Regions from separate parts of the Homo sapiens genome. Here all the other regions are linked to region 1. The links are contacts of gene promoters, found by promoter capture Hi-C in blood cells and fetal thymus (Javierre and others, 2016). All regions are on one chromosome and are shown on one strand. The core of a region is centred on a gene start or on the middle of the fragment in contact, and the rest is flanking DNA. Distances in the headings are between cores, read along the strand shown. Region 1 holds the start of COA1 (cytochrome c oxidase assembly factor 1). Region 2 overlaps HECW1 (HECT, C2 and WW domain containing E3 ubiquitin protein ligase 1). Region 3 has its middle 32 kb from the start of MRPL32. Region 4 overlaps C7orf25 (chromosome 7 open reading frame 25). Region 5 has its middle 30 kb from the start of C7orf25.

Region 1 (2,700 bases), core at 159-2,658:
AGAAATGTTAAGTTCTGAGTTTTCAAGCAAATGGTCAGAAAAGCCTATTTAATGTTTTATTACTTACAAAGTAAACATATTTCTCTTTCTGGTACAGAACGGGAGCTAATTGATCTCGGGTTCATTTTCATGAACGTTGTATGAAATGCACATATACCAAACCTCATAAGCTTTTTATTAGTTGATTTATTCTTTGAAATATTAAGCTTGGTGTAAGGTATTATAACCTCAATCTCTTTGAAAATGTAATAAGTCAATAATCAATGTTGCATCAATGAATATTACTCAGTGGATGCCTATTTTATTTCTTCTTTTTCTCTAAGAACCATTTAAATAGTCCTTATGGCCGAGCACTTCACAATCTGATTAGTTTCTATTAATTCTTTGGAAAAGAAACATTCTGGGAAGTCAGAATTCAGCGGTAGGTTGCTTTGATAATGTGCTCATTTAGCTAGTGGATTCCAGAGTGATAGAATGTATGTTTGGCAACCTAATTGTTGTGGAGGAAGAAAAGAACTTCTGTTAGAAGTTTTTAAAAAAGTTTAAAAATTGTTTTTACCTCATCAAAAGTTTGATGTCTTGTGAGTTTTATAGCATGCATAATATATTAATGCCATACATGACACATGTAAATATATATATATTTTTTCTGATAGGGATGTGTGAGCAAGAGTTTAAAGAAGAATGCCCCAGTCTAAAGTTAATTAGTCTTGGAGTGATGGCTTCGCAGAGGAAAGATACTGGATTTCAAGCTTGACATTAAGGTGATAATAGTGGTGACTATGGAATAATCAATATAAAAATAATAACAGCTAACAGTTACTGAGCGCCTACAAACTGCCAGACACTACTCTAAGTGCTTCACATCCTCATAACAAATTTATGAGGTAAATGCTATTATTATCCACCAGCCTTCTGAAATTTTCTTACCCCGTTACTCCCTGGTGTTAACTGGGTACTTAATTTGTCGAATAAAATAAAATTTAGTGCTGCCAAATTTGTCAGCTGAACGGGGCGGCAGGAATTTCAGTGCTAGAGTGGGGGGCCAGACGGCCCGGGGCTTCGTGTCCTTGGAGGCCAGCGGAAGCGCCGCATACCTGTGAGGAGCAACGTGAGCCGGTGGCTTATATTTCCTGGGCTAGTGCTACTGGACTGAATGCATTTGCAATAACCGGACGCAGAAAAAAAAAAAAAAAGCGGGGACCAGGGGAGGCGAAACCCTTCCCGGCGCGAGTCCGAGCGTCTGAGAAGCAGAAGCCACACGTCCCGGCGACCTAAGTTCTGGATCAGCCGGCCGGAGGACCCGTGTTAGCATTTACAATCCGAGGTGAGCTGAAGCCTCCGGTTGTCCCGGTTCGACGCTCTAGCCCTGCGAGCAGCCGACGCCGGAAGTCTCTACTGCTCCCCGCTGGCGCGCAGGACCGCGGGCATTTACCCGTGCTTTCCCAAGCCTGGAAGAACTCGTCATGCTCTTTGTAGCGTGGTGCTTCTGTTGCTCACAGGTTAGTCTCCCGCGGTATAAGAGTCTCCGTCTTCCCCCCAGCAAGAAGCGTTTGTTCCTGCAATTCGGGGGGCCGCCTTTGCGCGCGGGGTGCGCTGCTTCTTGGAGAGTTCCCTCACGGGTCACATCGCGGAGGTTCGCGCCGGCGCCGGGTCGCGGCCTCCCTGCGCAGCTTCTTTGGCACCTGGTAACCTTCAGTGGCTCCGTCCGCTCGGAGTTAGGAGGCTGTGTCGAGCTAACCTTGACCTTGTCCTGCAGTTTTTGCTGACCATCCCCAACAGCACACTGTAAAGAGTTAGGGTCCTCTCGAAGAGTTGGGACTGGGCACTTTTGTTGGTAGTGCTAAATTTCAACACCCTGAGGAGTACGCTGCCCAAATTATTGTAGGAAAGAATTACCTGGTTTAGTGGTTATAATACTTTTTGTCCCCACCACACTTGAATAACAGAAAAACCCTCCCAACAGGGGCTGACTGCAAAAGTGATTTTCTGTGTAGGGGACATTGGATGTATTTATGTATATATCAGTGCCTATCAGTCTGTATGTGTGTTTGGGGGTGGATGCTGTGTAATTTAAAAAAATCTATGGAGATTCTGATAATTTGATAACCTGTTTCTCCGGTCTTCCCCTGATTCCTCCCCATTCTCCCCGGAGGGCTATTGCTTTATTTCTGAGGTGGCTCACGTTTGGATAGAAGTAGCAACTCTCCGCTTACACCTGCACGTTTAAAACGCATATCAGATTGTGTTATTTCTGTCCTCAGAATCTTCCTGGCCTTCCCGTTGCTTTCAGGATAATACACATTTCTTAGCCTAACTTCAAGGGCCTACAGGGTCTTGATTCTGCTGAGTTTTTCAGTCTTTGCTACTTTCATGGAAAACACACCTGCAGGTACACTCATATTATGCTCCCACCATGCCAGTCTACGGTAATTTAATAACTTTAGATATGGCAAAGTTTTATATGGTTTACTCAAGTTTTAATTTTTGTTCTAGCATTTAGCCAAAATCGATTGAATTCATAATATTGCTAGGCACTGTTTTAAAAACGGGATAAAATGAAAACAAAACAAAACACAAAACAAAAGTCTTCAGTCCTTTAAAAAAATAAAACAGCTTCCTGACACATAGTTCACCTACCGTAGAGTTCACCATTTAAAACGTAGCGGTGCCTCACGCCTGTAATCCCAGCACTTTGGG
Region 2 (2,818 bases), core at 154-2,653, 550 kb after region 1:
GAATCTACAATGAAAGGATCTTTGTAAGCCTTGAAGGTCCAAGTGGGCTGGAGTTGAGGAACGCCACAGCGGCTCTGGTAGTGAACCACAGTGATTCAAAGCATACAGTCCCCCTTGCTGCCCAACCTCTAGCTGTGGCACCTTGGACATGTTTCTTTCCATCTTTCAGCCTCCACTTTCTCACCTTTAAATTAGGGATGTGAGAGAACGCAAGACAAGGGGCGAGTGTGAGGAGGCAGCGCTCTGCACAGTGACCAGTGCCTAATAAGCATTGAGGAGCTCAACACATGTGAGCTATCATAGAAAGCAGCAGCTTTACAGAAAGCTGTCTGGAGGCCAAGCTGGAGGATCACTTGATATTTGGCACTTTCTTTCATGTTACCAAGTGGTGGCTTATTTAATCCAGTAAATTCCTGGGTAACATGGAATACATCTTACACTAAATTCCTGTCTATCATGAATAGCATTAAAACCAAGTTCCAGTCTTGCACCTTTTATGTGCAAGAAAGCTTGTGGCTCGGTCCATGGGGATAGTTAGATAGAACCCTGCTGGCCAGGTGCGGTGGCTCACGCCTGTAATCCCAGTACTTTGGGAGGCCAAGACGGGCAGATCATTTGAGTTCAGGAGTTTGAGACCAGCCTGGTCAACATGGTGAAACCTCGTCTCTACTAAAATACAAAAATTAGTCAGGCATGGTGGTGGGCACCTGTAGTACCAGCTACTTTGGAGGCTGAAGCAGAATTGCTTGAATCCAGGAGGCAGAGTTTGCAGTGAGTCAAGATCATGCCACTGCACTCCAGCCTGGGTGACAGAGCGAGACTCTGTCTCAAAAACCAAACCAAACCAAAAAAACCCTGCCCACAGGGGCAGGGGAGATCAAACAGATGTCTGAAAAGTTCACAAAGCCAGGATTGGTTAAGTGCTAAAGAAAGATGAAAATAATGTGTTACCAGTATTCAGAAGAGGGAGACAGTGCCTCCTGTAGGGGAGTAAAGGGAAGAACTGAGAAGACTTCAGGAGGAGATGGATAGGTTTGGGATTTGTAGAGAAGGGGAGAAGGCATTGAGATGGGAGGAAGGGTGCCAGCCAGAGTGTTTGTGCCAGACGCTGTGCTAAGCTTCATGTTCACACAGACTCATTTAACCTTCACAAAACGGGTTGAAGTAGGTGCTATTTTTCTTATATTATTAAGGATGAAATGAAGGCTCACAGTGATTAAGTCACTTGCCTAGACTCACACAGGTGACAAGTAGCAGAGCCAGGGCTAGAGTTCAAGTTGTCTGAATCCACAGTCTTTTTTAAAACCACAATACATGGAGAATAAAAGGATGCTGGCTCAAACCCTGGCTGGAAGACAGCACGGGAAAGATGACTGTGGGGAATACACTGAAAAACTTGATGAGGGACAAACTCAGTCCAGACTGCCCTGGGATCAGGCTCAGATCCTGAGATTCTGGTCATTAGGTACTAGGGAACACATGACCTTTTTGAATGAAGGGTGACATGATCAGACCTGTGTACTGGTAGATTCACTGTGGAAGGCCCCACCACCAATGATCAGAGAGAAGAGTGCTGGGACTTGTTCCTACAAAGTTCTCATTAAGCCTCTCTGGGCATCATCCACAGAAGCTGAGCCACTTAATCCCAAATGTGTGAGAGAGCAATATTCTTCCAGGGTCCAAGCTTCTGTTTTCTAGAGTAATAGTTCCAAATATGTTGAATGCCATAGAAAAAAAAAGTTTATATGCAAATCGCAAAAATGTTTGCCTACAATTTCAGGCAATTTTCAACCCTGAAACTCTAGAGGAGTAGTTCTCAAACTATAATGTCATAAAATAATAGCCAGAGAGCTTGTTATAATGCAAATTTTCAAACTCCAGCCTCAAAAATAGTAATCTAAGGGATCTCAGGAAGAGGCCCAGGAGCCTGCAAATGAACAGGCACTGCTTCGTAATTGCAATGCAGGTGGCCTTTAGACAAACTTCTAGAAACTCAGACCTAGGGGCCCCCAGTCCCTAGAGAAAGAGCCCCTATTCTAGAACATCACATAGTGGTATGGTTTGAATGTGTCCCCAAAAGTCAATGTGTTGGAAACTTAGTCCGCCATGCAGCAGTGTTGAGAAGTGAGACCTTCGGGAGATGATTGGGTCAAGAGGACTCTGCCCTCATGCATGGGTTAACCTATTTATGATTTAGTAGATTAATGGATTAATGGGTTATTGAGGGAGGGGGTTAGTTATCACAAGAGTGGGTCTGTTATAAAGCCAGTTTGACCATCTATTGTGAGCCCCCCACTGTGTGAAGGCCCCAGCCACCTCAGGCCTCTGCAGAGTCCCCACCAGTAAGAAGGCCCTCATTAGATGAAGCCCCTCAACTTTGGGCTTCCCAACCTACAGGATTCAAATAAAGAATTTTTTTCTTTATAAATTACCCAGTCTTAGATGTTCAGTTATAGCCACAGAAAATTAACTGAGACACAGATTCATAATGAAAATGGTCCTAAAATACAAAATGAGGACTGCTTCACGACCTCTTATTGAAGTTCTGTTGTATACTCCTTCTGACTGAAGCCTCTTTCTGCTTTCTGAAAAAAATATGGCAGAGCAAAAGGAGACATTGAGAGTTTCTTTTACAGTTCAGCCACAAAGTCCTCTACACACAGTAACAGACTCCAGAATTGAATCCAGGGGTACAAATGTTTGCCATTATTTACCAAATAAATTGCCCATATTTGCCACTTTTTATTTGCAAATGCTGTCTACTGTATCAGGAAATCCATTTTTCCTCCTCAAGTAGTACTTGCAAAATAGGTAAACA
Region 3 (2,880 bases), core at 179-2,678, 770 kb after region 1:
CCGGAATAAGGATGATCTCTATGTCCTGCTATGGAGATGTTCCCAGAGCAGATCCCTGCAGTGGCCATTTAGATGATTCTCTCCCTCCAGACAATGGCAAGAGTGCACTTCTCTGCTATAGGATAGAAAAATAACAGTGTTTTCCCTGCTCTCTACTCTCAGTCACTCAGTGCAACACTTCTGCCACCAGTTGTACAGGGGTTTTCCCCACATGAAGCAATTCTTACCCCACATGAAGCAATTTCATGTCCTCTCTGTCTCCTCCAGGCACCTCCATGTGTTCACCTATGTGGAAGCTCCCCAAACCCAGTCGTTTTGGGTTTTTATGGAGGCTTCATTACATAGGCATGATTGATTACATTAATGCCCATAGGTGTCAACTCTACCTTCAGCCTTTCTCCCCTCCCAGGAGACTACAGGATGGGGCTGAAAGTCCCAACTCTCTAATCATGCCTAGGTCTCTCCCATGACCAGTCCCCGTCCTGAAGCTATTTAGGGGCTGCTAGACAGTAGTCATTCATTAGCATACAAAAGACATTCTTGTCACTCCAGGAGCTAGCTCTTATCACGTTTAGGAGCTGTATGCCAAGAAATGGGGACAAAACCCAAATATATATTTCACAATATCACATCCACCCACTTGAATTTTGTCTTGCCAATAAAATGTAAGTGATGTGCACCACTTTTCTGTGAAATTGTTAAGAGGAAGCATGATTCACCTTTCTCTCTTTTCCCTTTGCCAAGGCTACAAAATGTTCTAGATGGTGGCTGCTCCTTTAGCAAGGATCCAAGTCAGGATGACAGGGACACAAAACAGAGCTCCTGGCTGACTAGCAAAGGGCACGTAACATGAGCCTGACATAGACCTTTGTTGTATAAAGTCGCTGAGACCTTGTGTTAGTTTGTTGCCATAGCTTAACACAGTATCCTGACAGATACATAAACAGGCACGCAGAAATAGAAAGCGTTTGGGATATAGAAAATGATTCTCCCAAATATGGCACTTGGGCATACTGCATGCTTTTGAAAATTGAGGCCCAGTGCAGTGGTTCATGCCTATAGTCCTGGCACTTTGGGAGGCCGAGGCGGGAGGATTGCTAGAGCCCAGGAGTTTGAGACCAGCCTGGGCAACATAGTGAGACCTGTATCTTAATAAAAAGGAAAAAGAAAGAAAATTGAAAGGACTCAGAAATAAGCCTCAGAATCAAGGTCCCTCTAACCCTCTTCTCCTTCCTTTCGACAGCAGAGAGAGGGACTGTCTCTGAAATTTCCTTATCTAACCAAGAAAGCTTCTTGCCAAAAGAAATACAATTGCCTGTTCCCTCCCTGTTACCTCATTATCTACAGCAGAAAAGAAGGTTGAAGAATGTAACCACACCTGGATAAACTTTTCCACAAGATAATGCCTGCCTCTCCACCTCACATTCTAAAGATAATCATCATTTACAAGTTAATTTCTGTATCCCTGGTCCATTCATTTTCCCTAATAATCGTTTACCACCCTTTAAAGAACTGGCTACATTCCCTATATCCTTCCTCCTCTATGAAAAAGGGTATAGAAGCTTCTGTACCCCATTAGGAGATTGGGGTAATCACTGTTTGATTCCCTCACCCACATGTTAATAAATTTGTATGCTTTTTCTCCTATTAATCTGCCTTCTGTCAGTTGATTTTCAGTGAACTTTTACAGAATGCAGGGGAAGTTTCCCTTGGCCCCTACAGTTTTGCACTGTGAGCAGGATAGCAAAACTGCTCTGCTCTTCTGGAAGCCACAGTCAAGGGAGCCCAGGACTCAACAAACCCGTAGGATAAGAAATTCTTACCAGCCAGGCTCCAAGCCTCTCTTTGTGCAATCTGGTCCAGTAGACAGTAAAAGTCACTGTCCCTTTCCCTCTCCAAAGTCTTTTTTTTTTTTTTTTTTTTTTTTGAGACAGAGTCTCACTCTCTTGCCAAGGCTGGAGTGCAGTGGTACGATCTTGGCTCACTGCAACCTCTGCCTCCCAGGTTTAAGCAATTCTTGTGCCTCAGCCTCCCGAGTAGCTGGGATTACAGCCATGCACCACCACTACCTAGTGGTGGTGCTAATTTTTGTGGTTTTAGTAGAGATGCGATTTTGCCATGTTGGCCAGGCTGGTCTCAAACTCCTGACCTCAGGTGATACACCCACCTGAGCTTCCCAAAATGCTGGGATTATAGGAGTGAGCCACCGTACCTAGTTGAAAGTCTTGATTAATGGAGGAAAAGGATTTGTGAGCCTAGTCTTAGGTGTAGCAACTCTGGTGTACTTTTTGGTATGAAAATTCATATTGTCTTTTTCCTCCCAGAAATAGTCTTGTCTTTTGTCTTTGTCTTTCTGTGTTGTTCTGTCATAAAGAGGGATTGTGTCAATATGAGATAATAAGAAGGGTCAAAATCTAGTTTTAAAGAGTTTAATCAAGAAGAAAGCTGGGAATGGCCATTCTGGGACACACAGATTTCAGAGAAATAGGATCAGTGCTCTGAAGTTAAAAGTTAAGTTTTTGCTTATATAGGAAGAAGACAAAGAAATTTAACAGGATTATATTTCCTATATACTGGTTTAAGAGTTATAACAAATTAATTAGTTAGAGTTTGTTTTCTTTTCTGTATGGCTTGTTTTATTCATAGCTGATTTTCATTTCCTTTCCAATTTAAAAGAGTATGTTTAACATTCCATCTTAAGACAATGTGGTAGTCATGAAGTCTTTGTGTGAGAAAGGTGAGAGGGAGGTTAATCTACAATGAAGATCAACAGAGGAGAAGGAAGGGGTCTTCCTTGGTGCCCTTCTGTCATTCATGTCATTTTATTAACACAAAACAATACAGGTAAGGAAGGAGGCTTAATCTATAATCAGAGAAACA
Region 4 (2,700 bases), core at 131-2,630, 820 kb after region 1:
GAACTTTTGCAGGTGACCAGAGTTGACCGAGAAAATATACTAGCAAGTGTTGCGTTTCCAACAGAAATTAAGGTCGATGTGTGCAAAAGAGTAAATCTGGACATTACTACTTTAATCACATATGTATCTGCCCTCAGCTATGGAGGCTGCCACTTTATTTTCAAAGAGAAAGTGCTCACAGAACAAGCAGAGCAAGAGAGGAAAGAGCAGGTTCTACCTCAGCTGGAGGCCTTTATGAAGGACAAGGAGTTGTTTGCTTGTGAATCTGCTGTCAAGGACTTTCAGTCTATTTTAGATACCTTAGGAGGACCTGGGGAGAGAGAGAGGGCCACTGTGTTAATTAAGCGAATTAATGTGGTACCAGACCAGCCTTCTGAGCGTGCCTTGAGACTAGTGGCCAGTTCAAAAATTAATAGCCGCTCATTAACAATTTTTGGGACGGGAGACACCCTAAAAGCCATCACAATGACTGCTAATAGTGGTTTTGTCAGAGCTGCAAACAACCAGGGTGTTAAATTTAGTGTGTTTATCCATCAGCCCAGAGCACTTACTGAGAGTAAAGAGGCTCTAGCCACCCCCTTACCAAAAGACTACACAACTGACAGTGAACACTAAAGATACCCTTTAAATATTTTTGTGGAAGTAAGTTATTTATACCAAAGGCTGGGTCTTCCCATCTAAACTGGTGGGAAAAAAGGTCTATAGTAAAAGTAAAACTGAGAACTCTTAAACCAGTAGAGTTTCTTTGTCTCTCATCTAAAGTATATAACCTCCCAAAGTAGAAAAAGCACAAGAGAGAAGCTTATCTATCAAACTGTCTGCATTAGTGCAATTAAGAACCGAAATACGTCTATATAAAGCTTTCAGCTGTATTGTAATACTTTGATTCGATAGGGCTACAACTCCCCTACTGCTAACCACATTTCATGGAATATGGCTACATTGCATCTTGCATTAAATATCTGGAGAAAATTCAAGCCTGTTTTTCATTGTATTGCTTTATATGGTTTAGGCTGGGAGGTAGTCGTTGGTAATCAATTTTAGATTCTAAGGTTAACCATTAATGAAAAACTTATTTGCTGTATGTCAGGTGCAGTCTGATAGGTGTTTTTACAAAAAGTACATAATACAGAAGAAATGAGAAAGTGAATTATGGTTATTTGAGTGCCATGAACCCATTGGTAGACCTTTGTGAAAAGAAAGCCAACAATCTTACTACTATAAGATAAAACCAGGACACTTAAGGTAAAATACTAATTTGAATGAATTGAAAAAGGATTATGTAAAAGATTTTAAAAATTCAATACAGAAAGCCCCCATATTATAAGTATTTGAACAATAAATACTATTTTCATGTTTCATTTGCAAGTGGCAAGTGACAACTGCATTACCTTACTTTCATGAGATGGTGACAGAATATTCCATGCCAATTCCATGACACAAGTTGTAGTTAAAAATACACTTCTATGGCTACATTGCGCTAGATACTTTATCAGTTTTCAATAAAGCAAAACTAGCAAAGTCGGTATGTATTCACCACATTTAAAAATTTGGAATTTGAGTCCTGGAGCTTAAATATTAACTCATGCTAAGTGTAGGAGCTGGTATTAAAACTTGATGTTTCTAGCCACAGTCTGATCTCTTTCTACCATGCCAAATGTCGTATTTGTTGAGAAGAGAATCTCAATTTACAGCCACAGTGTTTGTTGGGGTGGAATTTGGTTATTGGCATTCATGAACACCCTGAAATGAATGCAAAATTAAGTGTATGGGGGTGGTTCTCTGGGGAGAGATTGCTTTACTAAGTCAGAATACATTTTCTAGTAGAAAGGCTGTGATTTGCTTCCAGTTTAGTGTAGAGTGGTATATGTCTAGTGTTAGAAATGGAATTTAAGCTTTTTGAGCATCTATTAAGGTCATGTAGTACTTGATACTATTAAGTACCAAGCATTATAATAGTTTGGTGTGAAAAGATGAATGTTTGCTCTAAGGAATTCTTAAGTCTAAAGTGGAAGTAAACAACTGAAGTGCAATTAAATGTACTAAATTCTCTAGGATATGTTGAAAATACTATGGGGACAGAGTAAAGGAGTACTTGTTATGGGGCCAGGAAGTCAGAGAGGAAGTGTTGTTTGAGGGTTTGGGGTGTGAAATTTCACAAGATGTGTGAGAAAGGGTACTCAAAAGTACATGGAGGAATGGGATTGGAAAAGTACCAGAACTGTGACTATGAGGACCTGTTCAGGGACCAGGCTCAAGTGGACAGTTTATAAAACAAGATGGAGCTAGAAAAAAAAGTCAAAGTTCTCTAAAGAGTTTGGCATTAGAGAGCCATTGGTGATTTTTAAGAAAGTGTGGCTTATGATCAGGTCTCTTAAGGAAACCACAAAAATCTGTAGTGTGGATAAAAATTGAAAGAAAGTTTGGACTATAATGACCTTAGCTAGAGCAGGAATGATGGACTGTAGAGTCATGGATACATGTTGGATTTGTTTGAGGCAGAATTGACATATTAATGTACTCATTCGTTTAATAAGCATTGAGTGACAGCCATGTGTCAGACACAGTACAAAGGGCATGGCATATAAAAGACTTGTTTTAAAGGAGCAGAAAGAAGGTAGATTTCTATCCCTGCTCCCTATGAATCAATCAATACCTAAGAACTTGGGATCTTTGCCAACTAGAAAGTGGACAGGCCAC
Region 5 (2,700 bases), core at 114-2,613, 850 kb after region 1:
GGGCAACTCAGCGCTGGCCTGCAGGTGCCCCTCAGCATGAACAGCCTAGGCGCTATGAATGGCAGCAGGAGGCAGACAGGCTCCTGGGTGGAAATGGGCAAGACCTCGGTGAAACCCCACCTTCAAACTGCAGAGTGTCTGAAGCCTGGGGCCAGGCTGCCGGTCCCATGGACCGAAGTGGGAACTTGTGGTGCTTTTTCTGGGCCCACCCATGGCCACCCATGGACAAATTGGATGCATTTCCTCCCCTCTAAGGCCTAAAATGGCCCCAGACTCAGCCAGACTCGAGGGGACAATGACCTGCCAGCTGTGGAGAGGAGCTGCCCACTCCAGGGTCTCCTCTCTGCTGAGAGCTGGGAAGACAACACAACAATCAGCTGTGGAGAGGAGCTACCTACTCCATGGTCTCATCTCTGCTGAGAGCTGAACACTCACTGGGACACCCTGCCTGCAGAGAAGAGCTACCCATTGCAGGTCTCCTCTGAGCTGTTTTATCACTCAATAAAGCTCCTCTTTGCCTTGCTCACCTTCCACTTGTCTGTGTACCTCATTCTTCCTGGATACAGGATAAGAACTCAAGTCCTGCTGAATGGTGGGGCTAAAAAAGCTGTAACACAAACAGGGCTGAAATGCCCCTGACTCGCCACTTTGCAGGCGACAAGGAGAGAAGACAAAATGATAGAAGAGCTGCAGCCCTTTGGGGAGCACAGACCTAGGAGATCCCCAAGCCAGGGCTGTGACACCCTCTTTCAGGCTCTGTGGTTCCTGGCATCTCCAAGCTTCCAGGTGCCACCATGTTTCCCAGTGCCAGCCACGGAAGCTGCTTGTGGTACACCTGGTCCAGCCACAGCCTAACAGGGAGCTGGCACCTGTGCCAGTGCCTGGAGCTGCCCACCCCACTGCAGCTGGTATGCCTGTCTGTGCACAGTGGCTGGACTGAGTGCTCGCTCACACACCCTTTGCTGCTCTGTGCCTGGCTTGCTTTTGGCAGGCATGGGATCCAGGCTGGTAGTTATAGCTGAGTACAGCCTGCCAGGCCGAGTGGGCAGAATGAGCCCAGCAAGTCCAAGCAAAACTCAGGCAAAGGTGCCACTGGCTACAGAGATTTCTGGATGGCAAAGCAATACCTCAAAAGTCCCATGACACTAGGACTACAGGCAGGCCACCACACTCAGCTAATTTTTAGCTGAATTTTTAGTCTCCCTGTGTTGCCCAGGCTGGTCTCAAACTCCTAGGCTCAAATGATCTTCCTGCCTCAGCCTCCCAAAGTGCTGGGATTACAGGTATGAGCCACCATGCTTGGCCTGTTTTACTTTCTTAATAGTAGTTCTGTAATAACCTGATAGGTTCTTCCTGCCTGCTGCACAAACAACGTCAATCCACTGAGACCATGACATTGCAGTAAAGAAAGGGTTTAATTAACCCTTGGCTGGCCATGCCACATGGGAGACAGTTATTACTCAAATTAATCTCTCCAGAAATTTGTAGACTAGGGTTTTCCAAGGAGAATTTGTTGGGCAAGGGTATCCAGAAGGGGACATCCTGATTAGTTGAGGATGCAATCATAGGGGTGTGGAAAATGATCCTTGTGTGCTGAGGCTGTTTCTGAGTGGGGGCTACTAGAGGAGTCCAGGTCCAATGTCCAGGTCCAAGTGGAATCATCTGGTTGTCAGAAATGCAAAAGCCTTAAAAGACATCTCAAAAGGTCAATCTTAGGTTCTACAAGAGTGATGCTATCTGCAGGAGTAATTGGGGAAGTTGCAAATCTTGGGACCTCCAGAATAATGACTAGTAAGTATTTAACTATGCCTACATCTAGCAGAATTCAGACCCCTTTCATCCTCCTAACTTGGTGGCCTTTCATTAGTTTTACAAAGAAAGTTTAGTTTTTGGGAAGGGCTGTTATTATTTAAACTGTAAACTAAATTTCTCCCATAGTAAGCTTGGTCTATACCCGTGAATGAATGAAGACAGCCAGCCTGTGAGGCTAGAAGCAAGATGAACTCAGCCATATTGGATTTCTTTTATTGTCATAGTTTTGCAAAGGCAGTTTCAGTTTTGGTGTCATGTTTGAGAAATAGTTGCCTCTTCTAAGCTCATGAAGATATTGTCCTATATTTCTTATAGAAACTTGATTTTCTCAGCTTTCCTAAAGTAGGGGGCCAAGGTTTCTTGTTTTTGTTTTCCATGTACCTTTTCCCACTGAATTGCAGTGGAGTTCCCTCTCTCCCCATTAGGGTGTGGGAGACTTGTGGGTCTGTTTCTGGACTCCTCTTCCTATTGGATTGGTCTGCTCCATATTCTAGTACCAGTACTGCACTGTCTTAATTTCTGTAGTTTTCTAATAGGCTTTATATCTCATGGTTTAAAATATATGAGCTTTGTTCTACTTCCTTACGTCCTTGGACATTCTAGGCTCTCTGCATTTCCGTATGAATTTTAGAAACAGCTTGTCTGCTTTGAGGGAGCCTAGCCAATGGGGGAAAAAGAGAAGAATCGGCTTGTTAGTTTCTACCCCCCCACCCCGCCCAACCCCCAACACAACAACAGAAAACCAAGGGAGTTTTAGTGGGATTACATTGAATTGCATTGAATCTATAGACCAATTCTGGGAGAACTGACATCTTAACAACATTGAGTTTTCCAGTCAAGGAACAGACACATCCTGTTTACTTAAGTATTTCAAACATTTTCTTATTA

What was found. The method cuts DNA at HindIII sites, captures the fragments that hold promoters and counts their contacts. A CHiCAGO score of 5 or more calls a contact.
Region 2: a contact is called between a fragment that was not itself captured here and the fragment with the promoter of COA1 in region 1, in 1 of 17 cell types (total CD4 T cells). The highest score is 5.1, in total CD4 T cells.
Region 3: a fragment that was not itself captured here is called in contact with the fragment with the promoter of COA1 in region 1 in 4 of 17 cell types (naive B cells, naive CD4 T cells, naive CD8 T cells and 1 more); the score reaches 7.9 in naive B cells.
Region 4: a fragment that was not itself captured here is called in contact with the fragment with the promoter of COA1 in region 1 in 11 of 17 cell types (total B cells, total CD8 T cells, naive CD4 T cells and 8 more); the score reaches 10.5 in total B cells.
Region 5: a fragment that was not itself captured here is called in contact with the fragment with the promoter of COA1 in region 1 in 2 of 17 cell types (naive CD8 T cells and total B cells); the score reaches 6.5 in naive CD8 T cells.

Annotation. Positions count from the first base shown.
Region 1 is chr7:43,728,231-43,730,930 of GRCh38, reverse strand. It overlaps COA1 (cytochrome c oxidase assembly factor 1), which reads left to right and starts at 1,408. Exons shown (of 6, transcript NM_018224.4): 1 at 1,408-1,502. RefSeq lists enhancers at 1,098-1,297, 664-1,392, 1,393-2,122. The HindIII fragment of the contact is 9,306 bases long and covers 755-2,700 here.
Region 2 is chr7:43,176,039-43,178,856 of GRCh38, reverse strand. The region is part of intron 2 of HECW1 (HECT, C2 and WW domain containing E3 ubiquitin protein ligase 1); the gene reads right to left. Among named protein-coding and RNA genes, the nearest start is that of MIR3943, 27 kb to the right of the region's middle. The HindIII fragment of the contact is 566 bases long and covers 1,121-1,686 here.
Region 3 is chr7:42,962,932-42,965,811 of GRCh38, reverse strand. No RefSeq gene overlaps it. Among named protein-coding and RNA genes, the nearest start is that of MRPL32, 32 kb to the right of the region's middle. RefSeq lists an enhancer at 418-477. The HindIII fragment of the contact is 273 bases long and covers 1,292-1,564 here.
Region 4 is chr7:42,907,550-42,910,249 of GRCh38, reverse strand. It overlaps C7orf25 (chromosome 7 open reading frame 25), which reads left to right. Exons shown (of 2, transcript NM_001099858.2): 2 at 1-977. The coding sequence ends at 615. Among named protein-coding and RNA genes, the nearest start is that of C7orf25, 3.2 kb to the left of the region's middle. The HindIII fragment of the contact is 1,035 bases long and covers 863-1,897 here.
Region 5 is chr7:42,881,010-42,883,709 of GRCh38, reverse strand. No RefSeq gene overlaps it. Among named protein-coding and RNA genes, the nearest start is that of C7orf25, 30 kb to the left of the region's middle. The HindIII fragment of the contact is 1,163 bases long and covers 782-1,944 here.